2 separate regions of the Homo sapiens genome follow, and region 1 is linked to region 2. Evidence: promoter capture Hi-C in 16 types of primary human blood cells and fetal thymus (Javierre and others, 2016). All regions are on one chromosome and are shown on one strand. The core of a region is centred on a gene start or on the middle of the fragment in contact, and the rest is flanking DNA. Distances in the headings are between cores, read along the strand shown.

The links. Contacts are between HindIII fragments. The CHiCAGO score rates a contact against its expected background, and 5 or more counts as called.
Region 1: a contact is called between a fragment that was not itself captured here and the fragment with the promoter of CXCL12 in region 2, in 1 of 17 cell types (neutrophils). The highest score is 5.1, in neutrophils.

The regions. Positions count from the first base shown.
Region 1 is chr10:43,808,175-43,810,874 of GRCh38, forward strand. All of the region lies in intron 2 of LOC105378275 (a long non-coding RNA gene), which reads left to right. Among named protein-coding and RNA genes, the nearest start is that of LINC02658, 31 kb to the left of the region's middle. The HindIII fragment of the contact is 1,837 bases long and covers 361-2,197 here.
Region 2 is chr10:44,383,714-44,386,413 of GRCh38, forward strand. CXCL12 (C-X-C motif chemokine ligand 12) reads right to left here and starts at 1,384. Exons shown (of 3, transcript NM_199168.4): 1 at 1,232-1,384. The coding sequence starts at 1,292. RefSeq lists enhancers at 1-327, 328-1,019. The HindIII fragment of the contact is 14,357 bases long and covers 1-2,700 here.

The DNA.
Region 1 (2,700 bases), core at 29-2,528, 580 kb before region 2:
TCCACGGACAAAGATCAGCAATTTGTTTTTAAAATAAAAAGTCAATGTTAAAGTGAAGTTGGCATCAGGTAATTGAGATGCTATCAGGATCCTGAGTGGGGACTGAACACATGCAACCACACAGTGTAGTATTTTTAGGCAATTGCTCACTCATTTGAGAAAACACAGTGGGTAAAACTGTTTCCCTTGTGGTGACTGTTGGACTTCCTGCATTTTCAGAGGTTTTCTGTATTTTCATAGGAGTCCCATTTCCTTTTAAGAACCAGATTGCCAATGCCCCATTAGTTAGCTTTCCACTCCAACAGGCCGCTTGCTCTTTTGCCTTTCCCTCCCCTTCTCTTTTAAACCAATTAATTAAAAAGCTTTACAAAAACAATACATGCTAACGTGAAAAATTAAAGCAGTATAGAAAACTACAACACAAAAAGGAAAAGCTCCTCTGCCCTCAGCTCCTACACTCCTCAGAGGTGGCCATCATGAACATTGGCTTCTTTCTAGAACTTTTCCTGCATAGACAATCAGAGAAACATAGATTGATAGACTGATTTATGCAAAGATGGCTGAATAATGATGTTTAATGCTCTGTTACTTGCTTTTTCCTACTTAATTTATGCTAGACATGATTTCACAGCAGTTGTCAAGGAGGTCTATCACCCTTTTCAACATTTGCATTTTTTCAATTATAAATAAAAAATTAATTAATTAAGAAACACTTGCATTTGGTTCTACTGTAGAAGTGTACCATCATTTGTTTAACCAATATTCCACAGATTGACTTGTAGATTACTTCAGAGGTCTTAATATTAAATGTTCCAGTAAATATCCTCAGGCATGTGTTTTTGAAGAACAGGGCTAGTGTATCAACAGGAGATTGTTTTATAGGTCTTTATAAAATTAAACTGTTTTCACTGGTATAAAAATTTAATAATTGTCAAATAAAATGTTGCTCTTTTAAAGTTTCTTCTCATTATCAAATGACGCTTTTTTTTTTGTCTTGGTCTTCTATAAACCTGCCCTTAAGCTGTGACAAAATTAATTTAAAAAAATCGATGTTGGTCCATGGGATCCATAAATTCTTTTTATAGATCGTTTAACAGAATTCTGTGTCGTGGGCGAGGCTCCAGGCTGGTGTGCAGCGGTGCGCTCCTGGGTCTGTGAGTGGGCATTCCTCAGAATCCCCACAGCCTGACCTGCTGCCCTTTGCTGGTTTCACTTGAAGCTATTATTCCAATTGACTCACTCTTGGCTGACATCTGGATGCGTTTTATAACAGACTGTTTTCATAACTCCACAAAAAGGTTCTCAGGATTAATACTTGTTTATTTTCATTTTCCATTGGACCTTAAATTAGCTAGCAGCCAATACTGGCACAACCCCTTACTGGAAGCCATTTTACCTAAGTGGAGGGGATGGCAAATCCATCCAACCTTGGGTTTTCTGTTGCTTTAAAACCTCTTGCCAACCAACTATTCCAGAGTGGCTGTCAAATCAACCAATAGCAAAATATTTGGGAGTATTTGTCAGTTAGCTGGGGTAGAAGCAGCCAGATGTGTGGATAGGTCATACAGTTACCTTCCCCGTGTAAGTTGGGGCCAGGGTAACCCATGGACATGTGTGCATGTACAACACAGGTGCATGTACAGCCAAGCATACAGGTGCCAAGATATTTTATTGGGATATTATGTGTTTTCTTCTCTCTGTTGTAGGTATTTTTTTTTCCTCTCCCACCTGAAAATTTTTTCTTTGCTTTTTGAGATTGTACTTTCAAAGACATTCAAGACACCCAGATTTTAAATTCAGGGTGTTAATCCAGGGTTTTGTTTTTGAAGACCTGGGATCATTGAAGGGATTAAGTTAGATTTTCCTAGAGGAAAGAGGCAAGTGACTGCCTTTGAATTTAAGGATTGTCTGTATACGTGTGTGTGTGTCTGTGTGGTGGAGGAGGGGGTTGTTTGCCCTTTAACATTTGTTCTTTTAAGGTTTCTTCTCATTATCAAGTGACACTCTTTTTTTTTTGTTCTATAAACTTACCACTGAGCTGTGATAAAATTGATCATTTAAAAAAATATGTGTTGATCTGTTGTGATCTATAACTTATTTTCTTATAGATTATCATGGGCACAGCTCAAGGCTAGTGGTACAAGAGCACCCCTTCCCAGCAAATTAAAAAGCCTGTTATTTTTGCAAAAGCATTAGAAGCTTTCAACAATGTTGTCAAGAGCCTTTCTTAACTCTTTGGTGACTGGTCTGAGTCAGTCACAGGTGGAAGGTGTGATGTGATCAGACAGGCCCTGACATTTCTTGTGAACTCATGAAATCCTGCATCTTTTCCAAATGTGCAATTTTGTTTTTGAAATTAATTTTTATTATCTTCACATTGTGTTGGATGATCAGAGGATTATAATTATTCCCTGCCCCAGGGGAGAGTATTGCAAAGGTACATAGGGCATGAACGTGGGGAGGGCAAGAAGTGTGCCCAAAGCGTGCTATAGCACAGTGTGTGTTCCACTCCTCATACAGCAATGAACTGGTGAAGGAGTTAAAATCTTAATGATTTCCAAATGATCAACAGTTTTTAAAAACATAAATATGCAGCATGAGAGCCTACATTTGTACAAGTGTATGGTTGTGTGTGTGTGTGTGTGTGTGTGTGTATGAACATGCTTGCATGTATGTGCTCACAAATGGGGAGGAAGCACA
Region 2 (2,700 bases), core at 134-2,633:
CGCCACGACCCCAGGCTGCCCAGCTTCTCCAGCCCGACTCAGCTGCGCTGGTCCTGCTCACACCAGCGCACAGTCCAAGCCAGCTAGGACGCCGGGGCCACGTCTGCACCAACCCAGCCAAGGGCTCGAGGCGCGCTGGGCCTGCACAGCCCGCGGCTGCAAGAGCACTCAGAGTGTCCTTCAACTCTTTGCAGGAAACTTCACAGCCAAGGAAGCTCAGCGGCCTGAGCCACAGGGTTTTGTTTTGTGTGTTCAGAGGCAACAGTTTATTTTGGTTTGCATCGGTGTCCTGTGACAGCGCAGCGAGTTTCTCTTCAGCGAAAGAAAAGAAAAAAGCCCTCTCCCAGTGAAACGGGACACCACGGTTCCCAGTGGCCCAGGGCCTTGGAGATTGAACTTTGCTGCAGCTCTCATTCTGGGGCAAAGCGCTTGGCCAGCTGGTGACAAAAGAGCCTGTCTGCAGGTGTGTTTGGGGAGCTGGGGAGGGGGCGTGTGAGGCTCGGAGGGTCCCTGGGCCTCTCTCAGGTGAACCCGAGAAGAGACAGGAAGACAGCGGCTGGACGCGCGCCCAGGTCCGCGTCGCTGCGGACCGCGGAGCTGTGCAGAAGCGCGGCCTGGCGGGTGGCACAAGCCCGACAGCTGCGCCGCGCAGCCCGCCCGCGCCTGGCCAAGAGCCCCGCGAGGGTGTGGGGAGAGGATCGGCTTCGCAGGGAGCGGAGGCTGCGCGGCTGCATCGGACCTCACAGCCTCAAGTCGCGGCATGAGGCGAACTTTGCAAAGCGCGCTCTCGCCATGCACCGCCCGACCTCCAGCACTGTGCGCAGCAGGACCTCGGAGCCCATTCGCCTGTGGAAACCGAGCCCGCAGCGGGAAGGCAGTGGGTGGAGGGTGGGCAGGCAGGGGTCTGGGGTCCGCGGCTCCCCACCCTCGCGCCTTCCCGCGCCAGTCCCGAACGCTCTCTTGGGGCGTTCCTGCCCAGTTGTCCCGGCTGACCTCGCTCTGCAGCCAGCTTGAGGTCAGGCGGTCGCTCTCTGCAGGTCACAAACCCTCGGCGCAAAAGTAGGGCTTTGAACGCGACACCGCACCAGAGCGCCCAGCTAAGCGAGCTGCCTCCACCCCCACTGTGTCGGGCGGCGCAAACTGCGGGCGCAGGCAGAGGAGCCGCGGCTCTGCGCCGGGCGGGAGCCGAAGCCCAGAGCCTCGCCAGGGCCTCCCCGCCGAGCGCACTTACCGTCGCTGAGGCAGAGCGCGGTCAGCACGAGGACCAGCACGACCACGACCTTGGCGTTCATGGCGCGGGCGGGCGGGCGGGCGGGCGGACGAGCGCGGGTCGGGGGCCGGACGCCGAGCGGGCAATGCGGCTGACGGAGAGTGAAAGTGCGGCGGTGGGAGGCGCGCGCCGGGCGCTTTAGAGGGGAGAGCCAGGCGGGGCGGGGCGGGGCGCGCGGTGAGGGGCGGGCCCGGAGCCGAGTGCTGGCCGTGGCCGGGGTCTCTGACGCGCGACTCCCTCGGCGGCACCCCCCACCCATCCCCTTCGCCCCTCCTCCGCTCCCTCTGTGCTCCCGAGGCGCAGTGCGCTCCGGCCTTTGACCTTCTCAGGCTCCGCTGGGCCCCGCACCGCTGGCCCGGTCTGCAGTGAGGTCCGCAGCCTGAGCGACGCCGGCTGGAGGGCCGCTTATTGTCCCTGTGACAGGGCCCCACTGGAGAGACTGAGGACCTTAGGCGTAAAGTGGGGCGCGCGTGGAAAGCTGCGGGACGGGGCCTTTCGATGGCGGGAACTGAATGAGAACCAATGAAAAGCAAACAAGTTAGTCCCGGGCGGAGGGCCTGCTGGCGGTGGCGGCCCAAGGCAGCCGAGGGGGTCCTGCTTTCTGTGCGTGGGGGCTCAAGCTCGCCACCTGCCCGGCTTGCGGCGCAGCCGCCGGCAGAGCTCGATCTGCGGGAATGAGACCCGTCTTTGCAGTCAGCGTGGCTCGGACTCCAAGCCCACGGCGCCACCAGCCGAGCCTCAGTTTCCTCGCCTGTACAAACAAAGCAGAAGGCGCCGGCGGCTCTCAGTAAAAGCGAATGTAGCCTTTGTACTTCCGACCTCTCAATGGTGAAATGAGCTAATCACAGGCCCACCCCGCGGAGTGGGACGGGAGATTCAATGAGACCCGCCCCACGCCGCGAAATTCTCTGCATCGTGTCTGACAAGCAGACAGTACTCAATAAATGGTAGCTGTAAGTAAGTCCTTTAAACCTAAGTACTTACTGCCTTACCCAAGAAAAGCTCCGTGCGACCCAAAGAGCTGAGAACTCCCCCACCCCGACCTCCGACTCCTAGGACAGTACTACTGGCGTCTGCCTTCTGGGTCCAGAAAACTCTTCCCACGGAGCCGTCCCTCGGCGGTGCTTAGCCCTCCGGATACCCCCGAGACATCCCAGATGGCCCCAGTCCGGTGGCGAAGGGAGGGTGCAGGTCGGCACCCAGGAGACGTGGGGGTGAGGAGAGCGCCCCTTTGGGCCTCGCTTTGTGACCGCAGGCTGCCCCAGCCACCTCTCTGTGTCCTTCCCAGCACAGCGTCCAGCGAAGTGGGGTCAGTCGCCGCGTCCATCCAGGGGCCTGCCCTGGGGACACGTCCCTGTCCCTGGGGAGTCCTGGCCGTCGGGGAGTGGGCGGTCAGCGGCTGCATTAGGCGGGAGCGGTCAACAGGAGGC